Linked DNA regions of Homo sapiens: all the other regions are linked to region 1. Evidence: promoter capture Hi-C in human tissues and cell types (Jung and others, 2019). All regions are on one chromosome and are shown on one strand. Each heading gives the region's core, a stretch centred on a gene start or on the middle of the fragment in contact. The rest is flanking DNA. Distances are from core to core; before and after follow the strand shown.

What was found. The method cuts DNA at HindIII sites, captures the fragments that hold promoters and counts their contacts. A contact is called where the count stands out against the background at its distance.
Region 2: the fragment with the promoter of CELF5 here is called in contact with the fragment with the promoter of ZNF556 in region 1 in 8 of the 25 tissues and cell types used here (IMR-90 fibroblasts, adrenal gland, aorta and 5 more).
Region 3: a fragment that was not itself captured here is called in contact with the fragment with the promoter of ZNF556 in region 1 in 1 of the 25 tissues and cell types used here (small bowel).
Region 4: the fragment with the promoter of GNA15 here is called in contact with the fragment with the promoter of ZNF556 in region 1 in 6 of the 25 tissues and cell types used here (dorsolateral prefrontal cortex, lymphoblastoid cells, mesenchymal stem cells and 3 more).

Annotation. Positions count from the first base shown.
Region 1 is chr19:2,865,504-2,868,821 of GRCh38, reverse strand. It overlaps ZNF556 (zinc finger protein 556), which reads right to left and starts at 1,487. Exons shown (of 4, transcript NM_024967.3): 1 at 1,398-1,487. The coding sequence starts at 1,400. The HindIII fragment of the contact is 10,595 bases long and covers 1-3,318 here.
Region 2 is chr19:3,222,859-3,226,176 of GRCh38, reverse strand. CELF5 (CUGBP Elav-like family member 5) reads right to left here and starts at 1,516. Exons shown (of 13, transcript NM_021938.4): 1 at 1,179-1,516. The coding sequence starts at 1,437. RefSeq lists a silencer at 1,576-1,695. The HindIII fragment of the contact is 19,492 bases long and covers 1-3,318 here.
Region 3 is chr19:2,605,456-2,608,773 of GRCh38, reverse strand. The region is part of intron 2 of GNG7 (G protein subunit gamma 7); the gene reads left to right. Among named protein-coding and RNA genes, the nearest start is that of MIR7850, 24 kb to the left of the region's middle. RefSeq lists enhancers at 1-602, 163-732, 603-1,457. The HindIII fragment of the contact is 9,077 bases long and covers 1-3,318 here.
Region 4 is chr19:3,134,297-3,137,614 of GRCh38, reverse strand. It overlaps GNA15 (G protein subunit alpha 15), which reads right to left and starts at 1,582. Exons shown (of 7, transcript NM_002068.4): 1 at 1,020-1,582. The coding sequence starts at 1,164. The HindIII fragment of the contact is 27,733 bases long and covers 1-3,318 here.

The DNA.
Region 1 (3,318 bases), core at 238-2,737:
GCTTGAACCCAGGAGGCGGAGGTTGCAGTAAGCAGAGATCGCGCCATTGCACTCCAGCCTGGGTGACAGAGCGAGGCTCCATCTGAAAAAAAAAAAAAAATTAGCTAGTCATGGTGGCACATGCTGCCTGTAATCCAAGCATTCTGGGAGGCCAAGGCGGGTGGATCACCTGAGGTCAGGAGTTGGAGACCAGCTTGGCCAACATGGTAAAACCCTGTCTCCACTAAAAATACAAAAATTAGCTGGACGTGGTGGCACACACCTGTAGTCCCAGCTGCTGGGGAGGCTGAGGCAGGAGAATCAATCGCTTGAACTCAGGAGGCGGAGGTTGCAGTGAGCCGAGATCGCGCCACTGCACTCCAGCCTGGGTGACAGAGCAAGACTCCGTTTCAAAAAATAAAAACAAAAAATAAAAGAACAGAATTATCATCTATCACAAATTCTCCATCCTGGAAAAGGAGAATAACTGATATTTTAGCGAGTTTTTGTAATTCACCAAATTATATACCAAACATTTTTTTCTTGTAGGAATGTATTCATTTCGGGGCGTGTCATAATAAAAGAGAGATTTTCTCTCTTTCTCTGCGATTCTTTTTCCCGGGAGCCCCGTCAAGGGCTAAGCCCTGGAATCCCATTTGTCATCACCGAAAATAAAACAACAGATGTGAGAAACTTAACCACACGGGCAAAAAAGGAACAGAAAATAAAAAGAAAAAAAAAAGGCACGCTAGAATTTTTAACAAATGGAATGTAAGACGAGAACTTTATTTTTTTCTGAAATTCACCTCCTTGGAAATATTTTATCTTTCAAACTCTATTATTTACTGTATGTTCCATTGACTGAAAAAATCTGAGGCTCAAGTAACCAAATCAATCTTTAGAAGGAGAGAGGCCCAGGCAGGGGCGGCTGGGCTGGAGTCCGGCCTGCGGGCCTTTGGGGTCAGGCCAGCCCGTGCCGCCACGTGGAGCGCCCGCACCACCTGTCCACCCCTCGCCCCTCCCAGGGACGTGGGCCTGGGCCCAAAGTCTGCATCCAAAGCGCATTCTGCTTTGGGGCTGTTGCACCGCCTCGCTGGGGTGAGGTTTTTTTTTTTTTTGTTTTGTTTTTTGTACTTTGGGTTAGTTTTTCTTCCAATTAACTTCGCGAGACCCCACAGGGCAGGAGTCATTTCTGCCTTTTTTTCCCCTCCATCCCAGCGTCCTGACAACTACGACTTTCCAGGGAATGAAGACTGGGGCAGGGGAGGAAACTCCCCGCAGGACCCGGGGGTGACACAGGGACAGAGGCTGCATGGGGGTTCCGGGCGGCTCCCCCGGGAGTTTCAGCGTGTTCTGGCCGCTTCCAACCCTCCCCTCCCAGGGCTCCGGCTCCGGCTCGGCTCCTGCCCTGCACTCACCATGTCCTGTCCGTTCCTGAGCTCTTTGAGGAGCTCCCTGCTCCTCGCAGCCGGTGCAGGTGAGCACGACGGGGACACCTGTGGTCACTCAGGGCAGGCCGGGTGTGCTCTGCAGGGAGGACAGCAACGCCCCGCCCCTGGGGCTGTGATTGGATGGTTCTCTTCTCTGCTCATCTCTGATTGGAGAGTTCACCAGTCACATCCCAACTCCCCTGATTGGACAGTTCTTTAGACTCTGCCCCTCCTCTTCTGGTTGGTCAGCTTGCTATCCCCTGAGCTCCCCTGATTGGGCAGTTCTTCAGGCCCCACCCCAGCTTTCCTAATTGGTCATGTTTCCACGCCCTGCCTCAGCTCCTTTGATTTGACAGGTCTCCAGGCTCTGCCCCAACCCCCCTGATTGACAGTTCTCATCCGGATGCTCCACCTCAACTCCCCTGATTGGTCAGTTCTCTAGGCCCCACCCCAGCTGCCTGATTGGTCAGTTTTCAGGTCTCGGGTCCTGCAGGCAGCAGCCCCCATCCACGGTGGTCTCCTTCCTGAAATGAAAGTGGTACTGACTTAGAGGGAAACCTGGGCCCTTGGGGTATCCACCGTAGAAAAAAGCAGCTTCTTCTGTCCTCAGTCTGTTGTCAGATTCCATGACACTGGAGGAGGTCCCCTCTCTCTCCTGACCAGTAGACACCTGGGGAGGCCCATGGGGTCAAGTGAGTGACCAACGAAAGCTTTACCATTCCCTAACTAGGGTCAGCACAATTGCTAGAACTGAACTCTTGAGCCATTAGCAATGGTCTAGCCAGCCGGGCGCGGTGGCTCATGCCTGTAATCACAGCACTTTGGGAGGCCAAGGTGGGTGGATCACCTGAGGTCAGGAGTTTGAGACCAGTGTGGCCAACATGATGAAACCCTGTCTTTACTAAAAATACAAAAAATTAGCCGGGTGTGGTGGTGGGTGCCTGTAATCCCAGCTACTCGGAGGCTAAGGGGGAAGAATCGCTTGAACCTGGAAGGCGGAGGTTGCAGTGAGCTGAGATTGCCCCACTGCACTCAGCCTAGGCAACAAGAGGGAAACTCCGTCTCAAAAACAACAACAACAACAAAAACATAGAAAACAAAACAAAACAAAAAAACCGAAAACACACTTAAAAAAAACTGTGGCAACAACTGTATCCTAGGTCAATATTTTGAGGTTAAAGCACTCTGGGGATATTTTGCCTCACAGTTTCTCAAGTAAAAATCAAGGTCACGAATATCTGTGTACCTATGAAAACTCAAACACCACAGCTGAGCGCTCAATGTGCAGGCAGATGAATAGTCTACAGGCAAATGACATATAATCAAGGAGGCATAATCCCTGGAAGCCTGTTGGTAGGGCTGAGAGCAAATAGATTTTATAGGGTCCCCGCCCACCTTTGCAGAGGCTATTCCGTATACTGTGATCACGGAAGCCACTTAAATGCAAATATTCCTTACCAATCCCACCAGACGTTCTCCTGCTGAGCCACAATACAGGGTTTCACCAAGACCCGCCCTTCCCTTGGGGTTACAGATGCTACTGACAGTGATCAAGGTGCTCAGTTCTTTTCTCAAACGACACTGTAGCGAGATTGATAAGGAATCAGAGAGACCGATGGGGTTCAGGAGGATATTTATTATTTAGCTGCACCAGCCCAGTCCGATTAACACCCAAAGGACTGAGCCCTGAACAAAGAGTTAAGTTACCTTTGAAGCATTTTGTGGGGCCGGGGGAGATCTGTGCAGGGGGAAGCATATTACAGAAGCGAGAGACAAAGAGAGTTATTCAATTAATTGAGACGTGCATTACATCATTTCTTACTTTTCAAGGCAAAACATGTTTTGCAACTTGAGTTTATCTGTCTAGTGAACTTGCAGCTGCACAACTAGGGAAACAGGGCCTTCACAA
Region 2 (3,318 bases), core at 267-2,766, 360 kb before region 1:
TTCCCCAAGGCCTCTCCAGGGTCTTCCTGGAGGATGGGAGGGGGAGGGCCGGGGGTGTCCAGCACAAGGCCTTTGAAGTGGCACCCCCAGTCCCCAACACCTGACCGGAAGGCTGTCAAAGCCACCCCAATTCAGACGCTGGGCCCATGATGGGAACCAAGGGCTGGGGATACAATTGCCGGACACCCCCACCCGGGATGCCATCGGAGGGAGAATCCAGTGGGAGGGAGGCAGACAGGCCTGAGGCCGCCCACGCCTCCCTCCTCCTCCCTGTCCACCCCAGAATTTGGGCTCTGCCCAGATGGACACGTCCAAGCTCATTGTCTTGGGCCTGAGACCCCAACACATTGCTAAGAGGCTCGGCCAGTTTCAACTTGAGCCCAAGGTGGAGGCGGGGGAGGGGGAGGGCAGAGAAATGGAGGAGAGAATGCTGATCCACGCGGAGGTGGTGGGGCCAGGGGGTGGGCAGCGACGGGAGCCTCTCCGCCACCCGAGGCAGGCGAGGCGGGCGCGTCCCCCCGAGCCGGGCGCCCCCAACCCGTCTTCCTTTGTAGTTACCGATTAGCCTGGGGTCCTGGGCATCCGTGTCCCCCGCGGCCGGACCTGCCCCGCCGGCCTGGCTTTGTGAAAATAACCAAAGCAATGGAGTCCGCAGGTGCAAACTTCCCCGACGGGGCCTGGGGAGGCTGAATGAATGGGGGTGGGGGGGCAGGGAGGGGTGCCGGCGTTCCCGAGGCTCCCCTGGCAAACGGGCAGGAAAGAGTGGGGTGAGGGAGGGAGGAAGGGGTGGGGGTCTGGGGGATGGAAGGGTGAGGGAGGGAGGGAGGGAGAGAGAGGGTGCTGTGGGGGGAAGGATGAGAGGTCGAGGGAGATGGGAGAGAAGAGAAAGGGAGAGAGAGAGGGAGAGAGAGAGGGAGAGAGAGAGGAGATGCCGGAAGGTGGGGAGGGAGGGAGAGGGGGCGGAGGAGGGGAGGGGGCCCGCTCGGATCTGTCAGCTGCACCCCCAGAGAGGGGAGGAGGGGTGGGTGGGAGGGAGGGGGTAAGAACCGATGCTCCGGCAGAGGCAGGCAGAGGAGGGAGGTGAGCAGAGGAGGGATGGTGATGGGGGAGAGAAGATGCCGGAAGGTGGGGTGGGAGGCGGAGGGAGGGGGAGAGGGGGGAGGGGGCCGGGCGCCCACCTTTGTGCATCCCCGTGTAGGGGTCTTTGAGCACCGTGAGCTCGTAGATGCGGCCGAACTGCTCGAAGAGCGGCTTGAGGTCCTTCTCGTCCAGGTGCCGCGGGATCTGGCCCACGAAGAGTTTGATGGCGTCCAGGTCCTTCATGCCGTCGGGCTGCCCCCCGGGGGGCTCGGGCCCGCTGCTGCCCACGGGCGAGGGCCGCGGCTGCAGGAGCTGCTGCTGCTGCCGGCGCGCCTCGCTCTCCGTCAGGCGGGCCATGGCGGGCGCGGGACCGAGCCGGCGGCGGCGGCGGCGGGCGGCGGGCGGACTCGCAGCTGGAGCGGCGGCCGCGCCTCCCGCCTCCCTCCCGGGCCCCCGCGCCCTCCTCCCGCCCGCGCCCGCCCCGGCATCGGGACCACAAAGGCGGCTCCGCAGCGGCCCCTGGCGGCCGCGCCGCGCGGGGCAGCCGGCGCCTCCCCGCATCCCCGGGCCGCGGGGGGAAACTGAGGCCGGAAGGCCCCGGGCCCCGCCTACGGGTGGGCGAGGGCGGAGCTGCGGGCGGGACGGGCCTTAGCCGGCTTCCCAGGGGTCCCCGCCGGCTCCCGCGGAGGGCATCGGCCGGAAGAATGTCAAAAGTTGCTGGGATAATGTAGGGGGCTTGTCGTTGAAAGCGCCCGTGATCCTTAAAGTAGGTAACTCATCAATAATATTAATAACACTAATAATATGGCTGGGCGCGGTGGCTCACGCCTGTCATCTCAGCACTTTGGGAGGCCGAGGTGGGTGGATCACTTGAGGTCAGGAGTTCGAGACCAGACTGGCTAACACGGTGAAACCCCGTCTCTACTAAAGAATACAAAAATTAGCTGGGCTCGGTGGCGGGGGGTGCCTGTAATCCCAGCTACTCGGGAGGCTGAGGCAGGATAATCACTTGAACCCAGGAGGCGGAGGTTGCAGTGAGCCAAGATTGTGCCATTGTACTCCAGCCTGGGCAACAAGAGCAAAACTCCGTCTTGGTAAAAAAAAAAAAAAAAAACACCTAATAATAACAACACTAATAATAATTAATCAAGAGCAAGACAAAGTGCTCCCACTAATCACGACAGCACAGGAGAAATGGTAAAAGTATCTTCCAGTTCTATAGGGTGCTTACACATAGAAAGTGTCCTTGGCCCTTTAAGTATGTAACTCATCAATAATGTCATCAACAAGGAGGGAGACTGGCTCGCACTGATAATGACAGGATAGGAGAAATACTGAAGTATCTCCCAGCTCTAAAGTGCCCGTGATCCTTTACGTATGAAACTCATCAATAATATTAATAAAAATAATAATACGTGCTGGCCGTGGTGGCTCACACCTGTAATCCCAGCACTTTGAGAAGCAGAGTCAGGAGGACCACTTGAGCCCAGGAGTTGGAGACCAGCCTGAGCAACATAGTGAGACGCCATTGCTGTAAAAAATAAGAAAACAGGCCAGGCACGATGGCTCACACCTGTAATCCCAGCACTTTGGGAGGCTGAGGCAGGTGGATCACCTGAGATCAGGAGTTCGAGACCAGCCTGATCAACATGGAGAAAACTCTGTCTCTACTAAAAACACAAAAATTAGCCAGGCATGGTTGTGCATGCCTGTAATCCCAGCTACTCAGGAGGCTGAGGCAGGAAAATCGCTTGAACCCGGGAGGCGGAGATTGCAGTGAGCCGAGATTGCGCCATTGCACTCCAGCCTGGGCAACAAGAGTGAAACTCTGTTTGAGAAAAAAAAAAAAAAAAATCAGCCAGGAGTGGTTGGTGTGCACCGTTGGTCCCAGCTACTCGGAGGCTGCGGTGGGAGCATCGGTTGATCCCTGGGATATTAAAGCTGCAGTGAACCAGGATCGCACCACTGCCTCTGGTCTAGGCGACAGAATGAAATCTTGTCTCAAAAAAAAAAAAAAAAAAAACACTTCCCAAAGATGTCCCATAATTAAAGCCCAAGTCCTTCTTGAGGCCCACAAGGCTCTGCGTGTCCTGTTCTGCCTTGTCCCCACCTTCCCCTGCTCCCTCTCTCCCCCTCCTCACTGCTGCAGCTACACAGGCCTCCTCGCTGTTCCTCTCACTTGTCAGGTGCGGTCCTGCCTCAGGGCCTTTGCACGGGCTGTACCCTTTGTCTGGGATG
Region 3 (3,318 bases), core at 528-3,027, 260 kb after region 1:
AACGCAGCAGGCCCCCTGACAGCCTCAGTGCAGACCCCGGGAGAGTGTGTCCTCCGTGTCTGCCCCATGCAGGGAAGGCCTTTGAGACTCTGCCATCTGCATCCCCTGCTGCAGAGAGAGGGGGTTGCCCGGGAGGCACCCGGCCCCTTGCCCTGGGGTGTCCGGTGGCAGCCAGGGGAGCTCCTCCAGGTTTCCAGGTTGCTGGTCTCGTGACTCTGCAGATGACTCGAGAGGCACAGGTGTGCCTGCATCTGGGGACACGTGAGCCTGCTGCCCGTCCCTGGATTACTGACCTGCGTCATTTGGGGGTGCAGGGGAGCTGCACCGAGGCCGTCAGTGTGCCTGCTGGGGCGCCCACCTCCAGAGACGATCTCTGTCCTCCCGTGTGTGTGAAGAGCCCGTCCCTCCAGCCCGCAGGCCTTGCCTTGCAGGGGCTTCGGGGACTTTTTTTTTTTTTCCCAGGGGCAAATCCCACGTGGGCGGAACCTCTCCGCAGCAGGTATTACTCTTGCGTTTCGGTCTTTCTGCTCCTCAGACATCCCCGCTCTTTTCCTCCACCCACGCTTCGCCACCTGTGAATCGTTCTGACTTTTAGGTGTGAAACCGACGTGCCACGCTCTGTGTCATGAGTGGCAGGGCGGCGACCTCAGCCTAACCTTTATTTATTTTTTTTTTCCTCCACCTTCCCACTGACTTGGCTTAACCTTTTTTTTTTTTTTTTTCTCAAATACCATCTGATCTTCTGATCTCCCTCAAAGAGCTGCGTCTCAGGTCGCAGGTGAACTTTCTGGATGGTGTGGTCTGCGTGCGTGTGTGCGTCTGGCTGCCTGCCAGGAGGGAACCGCTGTTGCTGCCCTGTGTCGCTGTCGCCTGAACGTATTGCTGTCCTGGGGGGACTGCTCCCTAGAAAGCCTCCGTGCCGTGTCGTTGGTGAGCGCCGGTCTGTGCTGACACTGCAGGCTACTTCCCAGTGCCCACGATGACAGCTCTGCCTCTGAAGTGAGAAGCGGAGACGCCACTGGGAGGGGCGGGGGGCGGAGGGCACGGGGTTCAAGTGCCAGGCTGAGCCTACATGGGAGGTACTTGCAGACTGGCCCCAAGTGGGTTTTATGTGTTGTTAAAATACATAACAATGTAGTTTAGCTTGCCCCATCCTAATATGTATTTCTTTTTCTTTTTTCTTTTCTTTCTTTCTTTTTTTTTTTTTTTTTACCATTTTAGTCTTTCTTTTTTTTTTTCTTTTTGAGATGGAGTTTCACTCTTGTCGCCCAGGCTGGAGTGCAATGGTGCGATCTCGGCTCACTGCAACCTCTGCCTCCCAGGTTCAAGCAATTCTCCTGCCTCAGCCTCCCAAGTAGCTGGGATAACAGGCGCCTGCCATCATGCTCGGCTAATTTTTTGAATTTTTAGTAGAAACTAAAAATGTTAGGGTTTCTCCATGTTGGCCAGGCTGGTCTTGAACTCCCGACCTCAGATGATCTGCCTGCCTCGACCTCCCAAAGTGCTGGGATTACAGGTGTGAGCCACCACACCTGGCCTTCTTTTTTTTTTTTGACACAGGGTCTTGCTCTGTCGCCCAGGCTGGAGTGCAGTGGTGCGATCACAGCTCACTGCAGCCTCAACCTCCTGGGCTCAAGTGATCCTCCCACCTCAGCCTCTTGAGTAGCTGGGACTACAGACACACACCACCATGCCCAGCTAATTTTTAAATTTTTCGTGGAGACAGGGTCTCGCTGTGTTGCCCAGGCTGGTCTCAAAATCCTGGGCTCAAATGATCCCCCCGCCTCGGCCTCCTGAGGTGCTGGGATTACAGGCATGAGCCACGGTGCCCGGCCCTTGTTTACTGTTCAAAAGTTTGCAACTCCATGGCATTATTTCCATGAACACTGCGTGCAAACACCAGCACTATCTATCTAGTTCCAGAAACTTGTCATCACCGAGAATGGGAACCTTCTCAGTTTAGTTTTGGAATGTTCCAAAGAGACTGCACCATCCGAGCATGTTATTGGTCTTCCTTGCCTTGGCTGCCTTCTCTCATCCTGACTTTTTATTTTTGAGACAGGGTCTAACTTTTTTTTTAAATTAATTAATTAATTAATTAATTAATTATTTTTTTTTGAGACAGAGTTTCACTCTTGTTGCCCAGGCTGGAGTGCAGTGGCACAATCTTGGCTCACCGCAACCTCCACCTCCCGGGTTCAAGCGATTCTGCTGCCTCAGCCTCCTGAATAGCTGGGATTACAGGCGTGCACCACCACACCCAGCTAATTTTTGTATTTTTAGTAGAGATGGGGTTTCTCCATGTTGGTCAGGCTGGTCTCGAACTCCTGACCTCAGGTGATCTGCCCACCTCAGTTTCCCAAAGTGCTGGGATTACAGGCATGAGCCACTGCACCTGGCCAGAAACAGAGTCTAACTTTGTCACGCAGGTTGGAGTGCAGTGGTGCAATCTCGGCTCACTGTAGCCTCCAACTCCTGGGCTCAAGTGATCCTCCCACCTCAGCCCCCCAAGGACTACAGGTGCACACCACCACGCCCAGCTAATTTTTGTATTTTTTGTAGAGATGGGATCTCACTATGTTGCCCAGGCTGGTCTCAAACTCCTGGGCTCAAGCAATCCACCCACCTCGGCCTCCCACAGTGCTGGGATTACGGGCGTGAGCCACCCAGCCTCTTCCTGACTCTTAAAAGCGGCTTGCTTGCTTGGAAGCTTGCCCGACTGCGGGGCATGGAGGCATTTCCTGTGAGCATCTATGTTTGCCCTGAAAAGAGACTTTGTATGTCGTGTGAGTAATGCCCCCAAAGATATTGGCTCCTAAATGTCTGGAACCTGTGAATTTTCCCTTATAGGACAAAGAGGTCGCAGAAGTGATCACATGAAGGATCTTCAGACGGCAGATTATCCTGGGTTCTCCAGGTGGACCCTAAACAATTACAAATGTCCTTATAAGAGTGAGATTTTGGCAGGCTGCGGTGGCTCACACCTGTCATCCCAGCACTTTGGGAGGCCAAGGCGGGCAGATCACGAGGTCAGGAGATCGAGACCATGCTGGCCAACATGGTGAAACCCCGTCTCTACTAAAAATACAAAAATTAGCTGGGTGTGGTGGCGCATGCCTGTAATCCCAGCTACTCGGGAGGCTGAGGCAGGAGAATCACTTCAGCTGAGGAGGCAGAGGTTGCAGTAAGCCAAGATCAAGCCACTGCACTCCAGCCTGGGCAACAAAGCAAGACTCTGCCTCAAAAAAAAAAAAAAAAAAAAAAAAGTGAGATTTGGCCAGGTGTGGTGGCTCACACCTGTAATCCCAGCACTTTGGG
Region 4 (3,318 bases), core at 333-2,832, 270 kb before region 1:
AGATGGGGTTTCACCGTGTTGGTCAGGCTGGTCTCGATCTCCCGACCTTGTGATCCACCCACCTCGGCCTCCCAAAGTGCTGGGATTACAGGCATGAGCCACCATGCCTGGCAAATTTTTGGTATTTTAGTAGAGACGGGGCTTCACCATGTTGGCCTGGCTGTGTCTTGAACTCCTGACCTCAAGTGATCCCACCCGCCTGGGCCTCCCAAAGTGCTGAAATCACAGGCTTGAGCCACTGCACCCAGCCAGAGTTCAGAATCTTGAACCGTTACTGACGTCGACTCCCCCATCTGAAGCCTCCGCATGGAAGCCATCACCCTGTTTTGTTTTCTCCTAGATAATTCTTGTTGCCAGAATTATTTTATCTGCTTATGAGTTTACAGACTAAATGTCTTGGCTCCTTCACAGGAAATGAGATCCAGGAAGACAGAAATATCTTCCCCTGTTTGGCTGCCTCGTTCCTGGGAGCTACCCAATAAATCTTAAATGAATGAATAATGAATGAATGAACCAATGAACCAATCAATCCATCCTTTCTAGCCCCCAAAGGAGCCCTAGACAAGCCCTCTCCAGCCATGGCAGGGAGGTAAAGGCGAGAGGGAGCGTCCTGGTGAAGGAGAGGCTGGAGCCGGCCCCTCCCTTACGGGTGGGCTGGCCAGAACGGGTTGCACACCTGAGCTCATCATTCCCTCGCCATGACACAGACAGGTAGGGCGTGCTGGGCCTGCCCGGCAGGGGCCCGGTAGAGCCACGTCTGCTATTGTATATGCCCCACACAGTGGACAGGCCTGGGCACCTGGCCGCTGGTCGCACGTTGGACAAGGAACTTGGCTTCTCTGAACCTCAGTCTTTCTCATCTGGAAAATGGGTTCCAGGCTCCCCATTCCCTGGGAGGAGGCGACGGCTCCACGATGCCAATGTCTGACCTAGCCTGATCCGCCTCCTTGCCCCGACACCCCTGCCGGCTGGCCACCGCCCACTGCCCACCACCCACCGCCCACCGACCCTGGACTCACCCAAAAGCAGCAGCTTCAGCTCCCCGCGGTCCTGCTTCTTCTGCTCCAAGAGGATCCTGTTGATCTCCTGGTCCACCCGGGCGGCGGCCTTCTCATCCTCCGTCAGGCACCAGGGGCAGCAGCGCCAGGTCAGCGAGCGGGCCATGGTGCGGTGGCCTCAGTCGGCACCGGGTGGCATCGCCCCCGGGCCCCTGCTGGCCAGGGCAACCCCCAGCCCAGCCGGCCCTGGAGAGGGCTCCGGGCAACCGGGTGCGCAGGGAGGCTGCCTTTTCCTTGGGGGTCACCCCCCAGGGACCTAGACTTCCTTGCCTGAAACACCCAGGAAGCCCGGCTCGGCGGTGGCAAGGCTTGAGTGCTGGGAACAGGGTGGGGACGGGAGGAGGTGGGGAGGCCAGGGCTCCCCGCCCACCTCCAGACCTGCTCAGACCCGGCCCGACAGGTTGACGGTGAAGGGTGCCAGGAGAGGGTGAGGTGGGGGCCCCAGGGAGGGCGGGGCGGTGGCGGGAAAACCCCCACCGCAGACTGGGTCCTGTGTGACCAGCAGGGCCCTTCTTCCTCCTTCTGGAGAAGGGGCGGATTCTCCTCAGGCTTCACCCGGAGCTGTCCCCCTCCTCGGAGCCAATCAGGAACCGTCAGACCCGTGCTACTGCTGATACATTATATATATATCATATATATATGTGTGTGTATATATATATATGTGTATATATATATATATATATATATATATATATATATATATATATATATATTTTTTTTTTTTTTTTTGAGACAGAGTTTCACTCTTATTGCCCAGGCTGGAGTGCAGTGGCAGGATCTTGACTCTGCAACATCTGCCTCCCAGGTTCAAGCAATTCTCCTGCCTCAGCCTCTCGAGTAGCTGGGATTACAGGCATCCACCACCACGCCGGGCTAACTTTGGATTTTTAGTAGAGAAAGGGTTCCACCACGTTGGCCAGGCTGGTCTCAAACTCCTGACCTCAGGTGATCCACCCGCCTCGGCCTCCCAAAGTGCTGGGATTGCAGGCATAAACCACCACGCTCGGCCCTTCTGATATATTTTTAAGAAACAGCTCAGGCCAGGTGTCATGGACTGTTTCCAGCGACTCTGCCCTGACCTCAGGTGATCCACCCTGCAGAGGTGGGCAGCTTGCCTGAGGTCAGGAGTTCGAAACCAGCCTGGCCAACATGGCGAAACCCTGTCTCTACTAAAGATACAAAAATTAGCCGGGTTTTGGCTCACATTAGCTGGTTTTACACTCACATCACCCTGTATAGTTACTACTGTCATCCCTGTTTGACTGATGAGGAGGTTGAGGCATAGAGCAGGGGAGTGACCGGTGGGGCTGGCACAAGGCAGAGCCGGGAGCCTATCCCTCACCTGCGGGGCCCCAGAGTCTAGACGCCTACCAGGCAGATTCCAGGCAGGGCCATCCCTTCATTGTGCGTGCATTCATGGAGCGCCAACTGTGTGCCAGGCACGGTAGCCAAGAGACACAGATCCCAGACCTCCTTACCTAAGGTTCTAGTTAAAGAACAGATAATAAAATAAATTTTAGGCTGGGCCTGGTGGCTCACGCATGTAATCCCTATACTTTGGGAGGCCAAGGCGGGCAGATCACAAAGTCAAGAAATCGAGACCAGCCTGGCCAACACGGCGAAACCCCGTCTCTACTAAAAATACAAAAATTAGCCGGGCGTGGTGGTGCACGCCTGTAGTCCCACCTACTTGGGAGGCTGAGGCAAGAGAATCGCTTGAACCCGGGAGGCAGAGGTGGCAGTGAGCTGAGATCGTGCCACTGCACTCCAGCCTGGCGACGAAGTGAGACTCCATCTCAAAAAAAATAAAAAATAAAAGAATAAAAAATTTGGCCAGGTGAGTGCGGGAGCTCACATCTGTAATCAAAGTACTTTGGGAGGCCGAGGCAGGAGGATCACTTGAAGTCAGGAGTTTGAGACCAGCCTGGCCAACATGGAGAAACTCCATCTCTACTAATACAAAAATTAGTTGGGCATGTTGGCACGCACCAGTAGTCCCAGCTACTTGGGAGGCTGAGGCAAGGGAATCACTTGAACCCCGAAGATGGAGGCTGCAGTGAGCCGAGATCATAACACTGCTCTCCAGCCTGGGCAACATAGTGAAACCCTGTCTCCAGAAACAAACAAAACAAAACTCTCCCTCTCTCTCTATGTATATATATACACACACACACATACATATATATACACATACATATATATACACAATATATAGACACACATACATATATGTATATACACATACATATATACACATACA